Regions from separate parts of the Homo sapiens genome. Here all the other regions are linked to region 1. Evidence: promoter capture Hi-C in 16 types of primary human blood cells and fetal thymus (Javierre and others, 2016). All regions are on one chromosome and are shown on one strand. Each heading gives the region's core, a stretch centred on a gene start or on the middle of the fragment in contact. The rest is flanking DNA. Distances are from core to core; before and after follow the strand shown.

Region 1 (4,773 bases), core at 1-2,500:
CCACTTCTTCAACTAGGCCACTAGGCCCAAGCGCATGAACAGGAAGCCACTGAGAAGCGGGCCACATTTCCAGGTTCCCGGAGCTGGGCCTAGTCCCGAATCCTCTGGCACACACCCACCCACTCAGGCCGCGGGTCCAGCCCGCGAGGTTTAGGACGGATCCAGGCAGACCGCAGGCTCCGGGTCGGGGCACCGGGTCAGCGCGCCGGCCTGAAGGCGGCGTCCTGGGCTCGACTTCCCGCGCGCGGAGAGCCGGCGAGCCCGCGTCCGAGTTCCTGGACGAGAGCCGAGCCTCGCTTAGACCGCGCTCAGGACCCGGCTCCTCCGCATTCTCCGGCTGCCCCTGTGTCCTCGACTCACCCCTCCTTTCTGCCGCTCCTTCCTTTCCTTGCCCTGCTTTTACTGTTCCCAAACAGGACCGCTTTTCCTGTCTCCCAGCTGGAAAGGAGGAAGGGAGAGAGTCCAGAAAGGATCGGTGATGTGGAAGAAAAGGGGAGGAGGGGACATGGAGGGGGAGACCGGAGAGAGAACGTACGCCGAGGAGTCAGGCGGCGGGATCAAGGGGAGTCGGGGTGTCTGGGCGCGGGGCAGAGCGTGGAGGCGGCAGCGGCCAACGGTCGCCAAGACAACCATTCTACGCGAGGACGCGGCGACAGGAGGGGAGCGGCCAGCAGGGGAGGGGAGCGCGGGGGAAGAGGAAAGAGGAAGAAGCGCTCAGATGCTCCGCGGCTGTCGTGAAGGTTAAAACCGAAAATAAAAATGGGCTAGACACAAAGGACTCGGTGCTTGTCCCAGCCAGGCGCCCTCGGCGACGCGGGCAGCTGGGAGGGGAATGGGCGCCCGGACCCAGCTGGGACCCCCGGGTGCGACTCCACCTACCTAGTCCGGCGCCAGGCCGGGTCGACAGCTCCGGCAGCGCCAGCGCCGCGCCGTGTCCAGATGTCGCGTCAGAGGCGTGCAGCGGTTTAGTTTAATTTCGCTTGTTTTCCAAATCTAGAAGAGGAGCGGAGCGGCTTTTAGTTCAAAACTGACATTCAGCCTCCTGATTGGCGGATAGAGCAATGAGATGACCTCGCTTTCCTTTCTTCCTTTTTCATTTTTAAATAATCTAGTTTGAAGAATGGAAGACTTTCGACGAGGGGAGCCAGGAATAAAATAAGGGGAATAGGGGAGCGGGGACGCGAGCAGCACCAGAATCCGCGGGAGCGCGGCTGTTCCTGGTAGGGCCGTGTCAGGTGACGGATGTAGCTAGGGGGCGAGCTGCCTGGAGTTGCGTTCCAGGCGTCCGGCCCCTGGGCCGTCACCGCGGGGCGCCCGCGCTGAGGGTGGGAAGATGGTGGTGGGGGTGGGGGCGCACACAGGGCGGGAAAGTGGCGGTAGGCGGGAGGGAGAGGAACGCGGGCCCTGAGCCGCCCGCGCGCGCGCCTCCCTACGGGCGCCTCCGGCAGCCCTTCCCGCGTGCGCAGGGCTCAGAGCCGTTCCGAGATCTTGGAGGTCCGGGTGGGAGTGGGGGTGGGGTGGGGGTGGGGGTGAAGGTGGGGGGCGGGCGCGCTCAGGGAAGGCGGGTGCGCGCCTGCGGGGCGGAGATGGGCAGGGGGCGGTGCGTGGGTCCCAGTCTGCAGTTAAGGGGGCAGGAGTGGCGCTGCTCACCTCTGGTGCCAAAGGGCGGCGCAGCGGCTGCCGAGCTCGGCCCTGGAGGCGGCGAGAACATGGTGCGCAGGTTCTTGGTGACCCTCCGGATTCGGCGCGCGTGCGGCCCGCCGCGAGTGAGGGTTTTCGTGGTTCACATCCCGCGGCTCACGGGGGAGTGGGCAGCGCCAGGGGCGCCCGCCGCTGTGGCCCTCGTGCTGATGCTACTGAGGAGCCAGCGTCTAGGGCAGCAGCCGCTTCCTAGAAGACCAGGTAGGAAAGGCCCTCGAAAAGTCCGGGGCGCATTCGGCACTTGTTTTGTTTGGTGTGATTTCGTAAACAGATAATTCGTCTCTAGCCCAGGCTAGGAGGAGGAGGAGATAACCGCCGGTGGAGGCTTCCCCATTCGGGTTACAACGACTTAGACATGTGGTTCTCGCAGTACCATTGAACCTGGACCTCCCTTCACACAGCCCCTCAATCGTGGGAAACTGAGGCGAACAGAGCTTCTAAACCCACCTCAGAAGTCAGTGAGTCCCGAATATCCTGGGTGGGAATGACTAAGACACACACACACACACACACACACACACACACACACACACACACACAGTAGGAAAGGTGTATTTCAAGCACACTTTCTTTCTCCTTGGGGAGAATTATTGCTAACCATCTAAGTTTTCTGGAGGCGGCCTTTTTTCTCCCCAGCCTCCCGGCGGGGTCACCCTCTCCCACCTTCCAGGAGAGTGGAGGACCCGTGAGATACGGGGCACGCAGGCAGCGACTTCCTGAAATGCTAACAAGGATCGTAGGATCAGTTACTGCTGCGAGGAGCAAGCACTTGCTTCTTGGGGGAGTTTTGCAGCCAACAGGGAAATGGGCTTTCTTTGTGAGTTAGAGGTAGAGGTCCGGCGGCCTGAGTGATTGAAACTGCTCGGGACAATGCTCGTATGTTTAGCAAACGACAGAACTGTAGAACTGTTCCTGAGAAATCCCAACTGATAGTATTTTAGTCATCTCAGACGACAGTTAGCACAGTTTAAAAATGAGGCCTACTTCTTGAAAAACAGAATCCAAGGTAGTTTTGTCCTCACATTGACAAATGTTGACACAGCCAGTGTAATTTCCTATAACCAGGAAAACTGAAAGAATATATGTACAGTTAAAATATGTACAATGCTAATTAAAACTTGTGTAATAAGTCTAAAAGTAATTTAATGAGGCTTCACTTTTATGACCGTCCTTGTGGTATGCTTCGCCAGGAATATATAGCTTCAAAAAGCAAAGGCCAGCGGAGGGGTAATTATTTTTTTACTGCAATGTTAATTGTCTCTTTGACATGGAAATATAAACCTGTTAAAACTATCAGTGTTTAATTTAGTGTCTCAATTTCTATTAGCAAAAATTTATAATCTATAGGATAAATGCACATTTTATTTTTTACTTTTCATATTATGCAAGTTAATTTTTTTAATTTAGTCAAAGGAGCTTATAAAGGATTTCAGGGCCTGTTGCTGGATTTGATTTTAATTCATTTTGAAACATTGACAAGACCCTGGTTGTTGTTTTTTTTAACAGTGGTTTATCCGTATCAGCAAAAGTTTAGCCACTGTGACCGGTAACTGTATGAATATAGTTCTTAATATTATTGTCTATATAAAAATATTTATTACTCTAGTTAATATTATTCTATATAAAATCATTTTGTTTAAATTATTAAGTTGCCTCTGAAAATCTGTAGTAACAAAGTAGAACATGTCAATGTATATAAATGCCATAATTATGTATTTTTTAGTTTAGGCCTATAAAACATAACATTGTGGTGATTTTAAGTTAGAGAAAATATTTTATAGTATGTTAATGTATATGCATGAAATGCAAAAATATTTAAATGATAGGTTCATTGAAATAGATCATTTTTTGTTATTTAGGTATAAATCAATTTTCAGGACGTATGTGAAAAGCGCAATCTTCAGGAAGTTTCTCAAGATAGAACACAGCTTGGATAGAATGTCTTGAAATATATGCAATTTTCCAATTTCATATGTAAAATGATATACATAATATAAAATCTAGCGGTGTTAATTATAATGATATGTAATTATATATTTCACATTAATATATTTTATGCCCATGGCTATATTGATTTGGGAATATATATGGATACTAATTATGTTAGGATTCATACAATTCCTTGAGAGGCACAAGTGCTAAAAATTACTTGTATGAATTATTTAATATCATTGCAAATAAGATGTTATTTTAACTTTTTTTAAGTTTCTGCAAATATGTTTATTATGACTTTTTATTTTTATATGATTGGAAATACATATACTAAAATTCCACGTTACCAGTTTCTTAACCACAGAAACCTGAAAAATTGCCATAGTTGATTTGTTACTTCTACCTTGGTGCATTTACAAAATAGTCATATTTTTATTATGAAGTTAAATATTCATTTGTTTATAGCTACTTCAGAAGGCTCAGGTTATTTTTTTCTTTAATAGCACAGAGTCCTCTCAAGGTAAGCACTGTGCAGTTAGTATAAACCATTATTCCCCATGTGTACATGATTCACAGTTTGTATTGTGTTCCAAGTGAACCATAGCCCTTTCAGAAATCAAGACTTATATTCATTTTACTTCTTTGAGTACTCTTGAATTTTAGAAAGTCCATTATGATCCTAAGGTAGCAACAACATAGCCTATTACCGTCTATGATGGTTTACAGATCTATTATTCCACGTTAGTTCATCACTATCAACTACCATGATAGAGTTAAGCTAAACCATTTTCCCAACATATGAAAAACTCCTATTACTAAAGTGATACAAATGGTATCAAAAATACTTTTTTATAGCAAGGTTCAACAGTGGGCCCAGTGCTTTTACACTTTTTCAAAAGTCCTTGGAGAAACAGAGAAAATCTCACTTGCCTTCTGTACTAAAACATTCTAGGCCGAACTAAAACTGAAACTTCATAGTAGAACACTGTAGGCCAGGGGTGTTCAATCTTTTACCTTCCCTGGGCCACATAGGAAGAAGAAGAATTGTCTTGGGACACACATTAAATACACTAACACTAACAATAGCTGATGAGCTTAAAAAAAAAAAAAAACTCATGATACTTTAAGAAAGTGTATGAA
Region 2 (4,773 bases), core at 802-3,301, 450 kb before region 1:
TGTCTTTTAAAAACAACATATTAGGCATTTGCTTTAAATCACAGCCCTCCTCCAATGTTAGGGGCAATTTTCCAAAAGTACTTTTACACAAAGTTCTGGTTTTTCTATCTCAACATGTTGAGCATATTAATCAAACAAGAATATGTTAATACCCTTTACTAGGTTAACACCACAAAAATTAAAATAGCCATATTTACTATGTAACTTTTACTTTGGTTTACATTTTCTATTACCCTAGAGATATATAGGTAAGAGTAAACTGTTAAGTGGAGTGTGCAGAGTAATTCTGTCCAACTTCCTTTTTCTACCAAGTTTATGAATGTCACAAAACAAATATTGCCTAAGACAGTGATTTGTAAATATGATTTGCAATACTCCAGTTTTCTCCAGTTTTCTTAAGAAGAATTCAGTTCTAAATTCTAAAGAAATAGCTATAGTTTATTTTAAAATTAAAGTGTATACAATTTAGCATTTTGAAGTTCAAAATGCTGTTCCTATATGCTGTTCCCATAAGCATATGAAAAAAAGAATGTCACTACTGCAAAAATTGCAAACACTCTATAGGATTTTCAACTTTAAATAACACAATAATACTTTTCTAATGAAATTTGCCAAGTGGAAATAGATTAGCATTAGTCCTCCATTCCACTTTACTTGTAAATATGAATGAGCATGCCCCCGAACATGTCAATTATCAACATTTCATCTCTATAGCAATTTATGCATGAAATCATAAAATAATGTCTTGTTATATTTTACTCACAGTACAATATATGTAATGAAATACCAATTTGCATAAGATTATTTAGAAAATATGGTGTCTTTAAAATATAATACCACTTATATCGTCTCTCTGTCTTCTCAAGTCCTACAGCTTGCTTTACTTCTATTGCATTTATCATTGTATATTAAGCCTTGCATTGTAGTTTTTGGATACATATAGTCTGCCTTCTTTTGAATATAAGGTTCTTCTGTGTAGGAAAAACTTGTTCACTTCTAAATCACTGTTAGTCTTTGTCTAATGAATGAGTAAATTAAATAGACTATTTTACCACAGTTCATGGCTATTGTGTAAGAGAACCAGTCAATTTAGAAAGCTATTGAAGTAACCTTTCAAACATTAGCTTGCTTCTTATGGGGGAGGGGGCATCATCTGAGGCAAAGAACAAAGTAAAATAATTAGCTCTATAAAACAGAACACTTTGGTACCAACTAGAAATCACATAAATCAGTGTCTCACAGGGAGATGTCAGCCATTTCACTATCGGTGTAGTTTCAGGAATTCTCACTTTTACTTCTCTTTCATAGCACTTTTACTTAATAACTGTGCTCTTTAGCACCTTCATCTTTCATGGGAATTGTAGAAAGTCTGTTTTGCCTACTCAAATAAATTAGAATATGTGCAAAAGTTGACACATGCAAACACAAAATTCACTCTGAACTGAATGCCTCATTTCAATTCACAGAATTTTTCGAATGTACTGTGTGAGTAGAACTTCAAGCAGCCATTGAGCGAAAAAATCTGTTGAGATCTGCAATTTTCATAATTCAAGGAAGGTTTCTAATTAATAGTTTACTGTATAGCTATCATACAATTTCATATAATACAGCTTTATAAGTTTTGTATAAGTTTTTGACTTATACAAAAAAAAAATCACAATGATATTTTCACTGCTTAGTAGGCCCTGTGGAGGGCTATGAAGTTCACTAAAATATATCTCCTAACGCAGGAAATGAAGGCAACTGACTCGCAGTCAAAAAATAAGAGAAAAATAATGAAAACTCCTTGGATAAAAAACCTCTAATATTGAACTTTGAAATTCTTACCTATGGTTTTACAAATTACATTTTGCGAAAACAATTTAGAGTGAAGAAACAAAGAAAGACGATGGTTTGGTAGATTTCAGTCTCTTCCCCACATCAAGCTTGCAACAAATGTTTGCCCCAACATGTAGTAAAGAACTGCATCCCCAACTATCAGAGTTTCCCACGCAAAATCAGCTCTGGTTTTACAGCTGAAAACAGTCCAGAGCAGGGAGGATCACCTGAGCCTGGGGAGGTTGAGGCTGCAGTGAGCTGTAATGGCGCCACTGCACTCCAGCCTGGGCAACAGAGTGAGATCCTGTCTGGAAAGAGTACAGAGCAGACTCAAACACAGCACCTCTTACGAAGCTTTTCGCTCAATGCCTGCTTGAAGTTCTACTCACACAGTGAAAGTCAAATCAACTTCCGAGTAAATAACTCTACTCCTAGGGTGAATTGCTCATTTGTTACCACCCATGCTTCATTTTTTCATTATCTCATCCTATCACCTGAGGGAACAACAGTAAATTCCTCCAAAGTGAAGGCGATGGGGTCTCTCACACTCTCATTAATGTCCATATTGCTGAGCAGTTCCCCAAAACTTAAAGTGTTTCTTTTAAACAACTATTCCTGCCCGCCTATGGACACGGTGGCTTGTTTCAGAGTTTCTTTCCAGAACAACCATTCCTTGAGCAAAGAGTAAATCAAAGACCAACTCACCTTGTTTTTCCTCAGGATAATCTTGCTGGAAAACTTCGAAAGCGGGGGTCGCGGAACCACTGGCCTGTCTCAAGGCACCCAGTCCCAGCGCAGCCCCCGCCGCAGGGCCGCCCGTGGACTGTGGATTCTCGGCTCTGCCGCCGCCCCCGGATGCCCGACCACCGGGGGGCCAGGAGAGCCCCGAGCACAGGAGCCTCTGTAGCCCCCGGGCTTCGCTCTCCTCCTGCGCCTGCTGCCTGCGCAGCGCCACCTGGGCGGCCATGACGCGCTGGCGCTCGGCGATCAGGGTGCACTTGGCACACGCGCAGTCCCGCCAGCGGCAGAAGCGCTTGTGGCCCTTGAGCGCTGACACCACACCATGGTTACGACAGCGGGCGCACTTGGGCGTCCGCGGGTAGCCGCAGCCCACCGCGCCTACCCCGCTCTCCAGCCCGGGAGCCGGCGGGCAGCCTCCGCTTCCCGAGGTGGCGGCAGCGGCGGCGGCGGCCGCGGCCGCTGCTCGCAGAAAGAGGCTGGGCGGCCGCAGGAACGCTGGGGGAACCTGCATCCCCGATGGTACCGGCAACGCCGGGGACGGGGGCGGAGGGGCAGCCACCACTAGCCCAGGGGCCAAGTGAGGTCGGCCGCTAACGCCTCGGTCTCTGCTGCCACACTGTGACCGCTCCATTCCCGAGAAATTTCTGGCCGGGAGTCCCAAGTGGAAAGTGCGCTGACCGCAGCTAACCCTGCTGGGAGGCTGGGGAAGCCGGGGCAGGACGCGCCGTGGTCCTACTGAGCTCCACCCGCGCACGGACAAAAGTTTTACACTCTTTCCACTCGGAAGGAGTTGGGACGACCGCGTCCTGGAGCTGGAGACGCTGAGAGGTGCAGCTGTCCCGTGAGCCTGGCAGAGACCCCGGGCGCTAAGTTAATGCCTTTGTGCCTCCAGCCAAGAAGGCAAGGCTAGAGAGGCTACCCCGCCCACCCAGGCTCCCGGCCCAGCGCGGAAGCCGGGGGAGGGCCCGGGGCGGGGAGTGGGGACCTTCTGGGAGGAGGGCGGCGGGGAATCCGTCCAATGGGCTGCAAATGTCTCCTCCCCCAAAAAAAGCCCGTTTCTACTTGCTTCCCTAGGAGTTCTCGACGTCTATTTTTGTAAACTAGCCTTTGCAGCCTCCCCTTTTACTGCCCTTTTGAAATTAAGCAGAGTTTGAATTTCTCCTTTTCCCACTTCCACGCTTCTCCTAAGAAAGTCTGAAGATTTGGATTTTGAGTTCTCCTTTCGGGTTCCCAGATGAAGTCTTCATGTCTGCAGCAGTTTGGCCAATGTTAGTGGGATCCCAGCTTGATAGACTACGAATTTGTTACCCACCAGAAAGATGCCTTATTTTAAATGGGTCTTAGGACAGCATCAAAACAATGGATAAATAACTAAGGGAAGTGATTCACATTCAGATTCTTTTCATGCATTCTATTTATTTACACATGCGAATTTGGGTTGTGTGTACTCTATTTTAAAATACTGCTACTTTAAAAAAGTTATCAAACTCTTCTCTGCGCCTATTTATAGGCAGCGATTGTGTTAAAGCTGTTTCAAAAATACTTATGTCTATTGTAAAGTATTGGGGAAAGTCGTTTAGATCATTATTTAAATATGCTGTCATGAATGCATTCTTCACATATGAATTTAATGCCTTTAATTATAAGAAAAGACCATAAGGCGTTTAAGTCAAAAGAGCATCTGAGATAGAAAATTCATGAATGTTTATTCTTAATGGAAGGTAGCGTCAGCACTCTGCCAGCTCTTCAAGATGGTATCCAACTACCTTGGACAAGTTATTCATTTTCCATCCCTAAGATAGCAATTAATAATGATATTTTTACCATTCCACCTGTTCACATTCAGAGCAGATATTGCTGATCTATCTGGCCTTTCTCCTACCAACCTACTCAACACCATCACCACCACTACCATCCTCTCATACAAACATCCTATCGTAGAAGTTTTCCACCCTTCCTAAGAACTGGAACTACCTAGGGAACTTTTAAAAGAGATGGACACTCCAATCTACGTAATGTATTCTGATTCTTTTTGTCTGTGTCTTAAACTCTGAAGGTGAAAATTACATACAATGTTTAGAACTACCACTCAAGGAATTCCTAACCTCTGGGGGTTCTATGATATCCAACCTTTCTCACAACTCTTTATCTTTGTTCAAGCTACTCCTGCCTAAAATGTACTGATGCCCTAACTGTGGACTCACATCCGTCCTT
Region 3 (4,773 bases), core at 1,681-4,180, 260 kb before region 1:
GGGCTGGTGCATAGCCATGGGGGACACCCTGCTGAAGTTCTTCACTGTTCAGGCACAGTCCATCAGTGCAGAAGCTATGATGCAGGCCCCCAGGGCTTCTGAGGCTGCCTTGAAGGCAAGCATGGTCAGACTTTGTTCCTAGGACAGGCCAGAAGACCAAGGGGTGCTCAGGTCAGACCAAGTTATCTGATGGGTCATACCACCCTGCAGAGTTCAGGACCAACAGTTCTCCTAGGGCTTAAGTCTCCTATGTGAGCAAGTTGAGCAGAGTAGGGTAGAAGTGGGAGTGATTTTTAATGGATACAGAGTTTCAGTTTTACAAGATGAGTTATCACATGGATGGTAGTAATTATTGTACAACACTGTGGGTGTATTTAGTACCACTAAACTGTAGACTTAAAATGATTAAGATGGTAAATTTTATGCTATGTGTACTTTACTACAAAAAAAATTGGAAAAAAATTGTCTTCAAAATGTTGCATCCTTCTGCCTTAAAAGGATTCTGATGAGAATCTCCTGCCTGGCCATGAATACATAACAGTTGTCAGATGATCACTTTACCTATAGTTCACTAAAGGCCTAATTAATGTGAAAAATTGTATATCTAGCTTTATTCTTATCACACACACACATTACTTTCAAACTTACATTCTATCTTTAGGATATGTAGAATTTCTCTCAATTCTTTGAACATGACTTACTTCTTCTCATTCAGATCCCAGAGAGCAGAACACCAGCAAACAGCCTCTGTGGTGTTCAGTTGATAAAAGTGACTTAAGCTCCAGCATGTGAGAGAGGAAGACAGCCTCCCTCTGGAACTCACCTTTCCACTGTGGATCTGAGCAACCCAGGCTGAGGGAAAGCACTTTGTGTCTCCCACACCCTGGAGCTAACTTGGGAAGAGGCTGAGAGGCTTAGAGATGCTGTAAAGAAAGATACCATGAAAACTTGCATACACTTTCAGTCCAGGGTCTCAGTCCAGACCCAGAAGTGAGAGCAGGATGCCATTTTTAATCTGAATGTGTACAAAGTCAGCCATTCTTTGTCGACACAGCAGTGTGGCTACACAGGCATTTTAGTCTCAGGCCAGGGAGCACCCGCTCTCAGTGTGGTAAGGGCCTCCACAGCCAGAACTCTGGAAAATGCCTCAGCAGTAAGGCAAAAATTGTGTTTTTCCCCTATCACAACCCTGGGGCAGGAGGAGACCTGCTACAGCTGTAATTTCTCCTAAGTGGCAAGATTTGCTGCCAGGGCCAGCTTGACAACCTGGAACTGATTGATATGTGCCATTGCTGGATTCCCTACCCTGCTCTCCTGAGATTGTAGCTCATTGGGGGGCCCTCTCTGTTCCACCCCTAGGCTGAAATCCAGGCATTTGGAGCATTCACTTCCCTGGACCAGCAGCTTGAGCTGCCCCACCCTTCCTGGAAATAGATCATGTTGCAGAGAGGCTCTGTCTTCTCCACACCCAAGCAGATATTTAAGAATTCAGAGCACCTGTTTGACTTGTTCAGCAGACTGAGCCACCCTACCCTTCCTGGACATAGACTGCAATGAAGTGGAGTTTTCTCTTCTCCATGCCCAGGCAGGTATCTGTCTCCAGGCATTTAAAGCACTCATTTACTTGGTTCAGCAGCCTGAACTGCCTCACCCTTCCTGGACCTAGATCTTGGTACAGTAGGGCTTTCTCTGTGCCCCACCCTCACAGATCTCCAGGTGTTCAGAGCACCAGCTCACCTGGATTAGCAGGCTAAGCTGTCCCACTTTTCCTGTGCAGATATCCTGGCACACCTCTCTACTACATGCTCAGGCAGATCTCTAGGCATTAGGAGCACCTGCACAAGCAGATATCCAGGCATTCAGGGCACCATTCATCTGGATCAGCAACCTGACCTGCCCCACCCTTCCTGTGCAGAGATCCTGGTACAGGGATAATCTCTCTGCTTCATACCCAGGCAGAATGCCAGGCATTTGGAGCAACCACTCATCTGGTTCAACAGCCTGAGCCACCCCACCCTCCTTGGACATAGATCATGGTGCAGCAAGTCCCTCTCTGCTTCAGGCCCAAACAGATCTCCAGAAATTCAAAGCACATGCATGCCTGGTTAATCAGTCTGTCACCCAACCCTCCTGTTCAGAGATCTTGGTTCAGGGGATCCTCTCTGCTCCATGCCTATACAGAGCTCCAGGCACTTAGAGTGCTTACCCTTCTGGATTAGAAGCTTAGGCCATCCTCCAATTTTGTGCAGAGAACCTGGAGCTGAAGCACTGTTCCAGCTCCATCCCTAGGCACACCTGTGAGTATTTGGTGGCTGCTCACAGGACTCTCCCTTGGTGCTGGTGCCTTCGCCTGCCATCAGGAGACCAATAGGTGGACCTGCCCAGTCATCCCCTGACCCTTTATGGTCTTTGCTGCTCTGGGGCTGGTCAGGGAGCTCAGACCACTGTACACGCCATGAATCAGCCTATTGTCTTAGGCAATAGGGAGTTTCTGCCAGTAAATAAGAATCAAGTATATACCCAGACACGTTGGCCACAGCCAGCTCTTACCTGTAAATGCCATCAATAGCTTGTAGGTTGAACTCCACAGCCCAATATAAAATCAGCCAAAGTAAATGAATAAGGCTATGAAAGCAAAGCCAGAAGACCCTATCCAACATTCTCTACAGTCACATCCCCCCAAAATGGAGGGAAAAGGGAAAAGGAAAGAATAAAAATTATAATAATATTAACATTATAGAGAAAGCAAGAAGAAGAAAAAACTCTACCCACACAAAAATATTACAAAAATTTAAAGAGCTAGTGTCTCCATATGAGAAGGAACCAGCATAAGAATTCTGCCAGCATGAAAAATATGAAAGGAGTGACACCACAAAAAGACCACATCAGCTCTCCAGCAATGGTCCCTAACCAAAATGGAAATTCAGAAATGACACATAAAGAAGTCAAAGCATGGATTGCAAGGAAGGTTAATGAGATCCAAGACAACGTTGAAAATCAACACAAAGAAATTTATAAAGCAATCTAGAAAATGAAGGAAGAGATAAAGAAGTCAATTAGAGATTCTGGAATTGAAAAACTCACCTAAGAAACTTCAAAATACAACTGAAAGCGGTATCAACAGACTGTATCAAGCAGAAGAAAAAAAATTTAGAGCTTGAAGACTGTTTTTCTGAGCTGACACAGTGAGACAAGAATTAAAAAAAGAAGAATTTTTAAAAAATGAACAAAGTACTTGAGAAATATGTAATCATTCAAAGCAAACAAACATACAAATTATTTGGCATTCAATAATAGGAAATATATTTGAGGGAATAATTCAAGAAACTTTCTTAACCTTGCTAGACAGGTAAAAATCCAGATACAAGAAACTGATAGAACATCTGTAAGATACTATGCAAAATCAACATCACCAAGGCATACAGCCACCAGTCTGTCCAAGATCAACACTGAAGAAAAAATCTTAAAGGCAGCTAGAGAAAAAGGGAAGATCATGCACAAAGGGAACCCTGTTGGGCTAACAGCAGACTTCTCAGCAGAAACATTACAAGCCAGGAAACATTGGGGGCCTGTTTTCAGCATTCTTAAAGAAAAAATAATTCCATCTAAGAATTTCACATTCTGCCTAACTAAGCTTCGTAAGAGAAGGAGAAATAAGATATTTTCCAGACAAGCAAGGACTAAGGGAATTCATTAGCACTACACCAGCAATACAAGAGATTTTTAAGAGAAGTCTAAATATGGAAATGAAATAACAATATCTGCTACCACAAAAATACACATAAATACATATTCTGCAAACCCTATAAAATGATCACACAATATGTGACCCTATAAAGCAACCAGGTAACAACTTCATAATAAGATCAAAACCTCACATACCAATATTAACCTTGAATGTAAATGGCCTAAACACCTGACTTAAAAGACACAGAGTAGCAAGTTGAATTAAAAAAAAAAATCCATTAATCTGCTGTATTCAAGAGACCCATCTCACACATAACACCCTACGCTCAAAGTAAACGGTTGGAGAAAGATTGGCTGCACAAATAGAAAACAAAAAATAGCAGAGGTTGCTATTCTTATAGTAAAAAACAGACTTTCAACCAACAACTGTAAAGAAGAACAAAGAAGGGCATTCCATAAAGATAAAAGGATTTAATTCAATGAGAACACATAACTATACTAAATATATAGGCATCCAATATTTGAGCATCCATATTTATAAACTTAATAGACATCTACAGTATACTACACCTATCAACCCCAGAATATATTCATTAGCACACAGAATATACTCTAAGACTGACTACACGCTCTACCATAAGGCAAATCTCAATAAATTCAAAAAAATTAAAATTATACTATCAGACCACAGTGGAATGAAAATAGAAATTAATACTAGGATGTCTCAAAAACCACATAATTTCTTGGAAATTAAACAACTTGTTCCTGAATAACTTTTGGGTAGACAATGAAATCAAGAAAGAAATTTAAAAATTCTTTGTAATAGAGAAAAACAGGGACACAACATACAAAAATTTCTGGGATACAGCAAAAGCAGTGTTAAGAGGAAAGTTCATAACACTAAATGTCAACCTCAAGAAGTTAGAAAGATCACAAATTAATGATGTAACACTGCACCCAGAGTAACGAGGAAAACAAGAACTAACCCCAAAGACAGCAGAAGAAAATAAATAACTAAAATCAGAGCTGAACTGAATAAAAGAGAGACCCAAAAACTCCATATAAAAAAATCAATAAAACCAAAAG

What was found. Contacts are between HindIII fragments. The CHiCAGO score rates a contact against its expected background, and 5 or more counts as called.
Region 2: a fragment that was not itself captured here is called in contact with the fragment with the promoter of CDKN2B-AS1 in region 1 in 7 of 17 cell types (total B cells, naive B cells, M0 macrophages and 4 more); the score reaches 14.7 in total B cells.
Region 3: a contact is called between a fragment that was not itself captured here and the fragment with the promoter of CDKN2B-AS1 in region 1, in 1 of 17 cell types (naive B cells). The highest score is 5.7, in naive B cells.

Annotation. Positions count from the first base shown.
Region 1 is chr9:21,991,268-21,996,040 of GRCh38, reverse strand. It overlaps CDKN2B-AS1 (CDKN2B and CDKN2A antisense cis and trans regulatory RNA 1), which reads right to left and starts at 1,250. Exons shown (of 19, transcript NR_003529.4): 1 at 880-1,250. It overlaps LOC124902130 (a long non-coding RNA gene), which reads left to right and starts at 2,013. Exons shown (of 2, transcript XR_007061436.1): 1 at 2,013-2,155; 2 at 3,561-4,773. It also overlaps a transcript of CDKN2A not described here. RefSeq lists silencers at 797-996, 1,317-1,576. The HindIII fragment of the contact is 17,311 bases long and covers 1-4,773 here.
Region 2 is chr9:22,445,483-22,450,255 of GRCh38, reverse strand. It overlaps DMRTA1 (DMRT like family A1), which reads right to left and starts at 3,432. Exons shown (of 2, transcript NM_022160.3): 1 at 2,524-3,432. The coding sequence starts at 3,190. RefSeq lists an enhancer at 2,757-3,256. The HindIII fragment of the contact is 247 bases long and covers 1,928-2,174 here.
Region 3 is chr9:22,254,284-22,259,056 of GRCh38, reverse strand. No RefSeq gene overlaps it. Among named protein-coding and RNA genes, the nearest start is that of DMRTA1, 190 kb to the left of the region's middle. The HindIII fragment of the contact is 1,412 bases long and covers 2,225-3,636 here.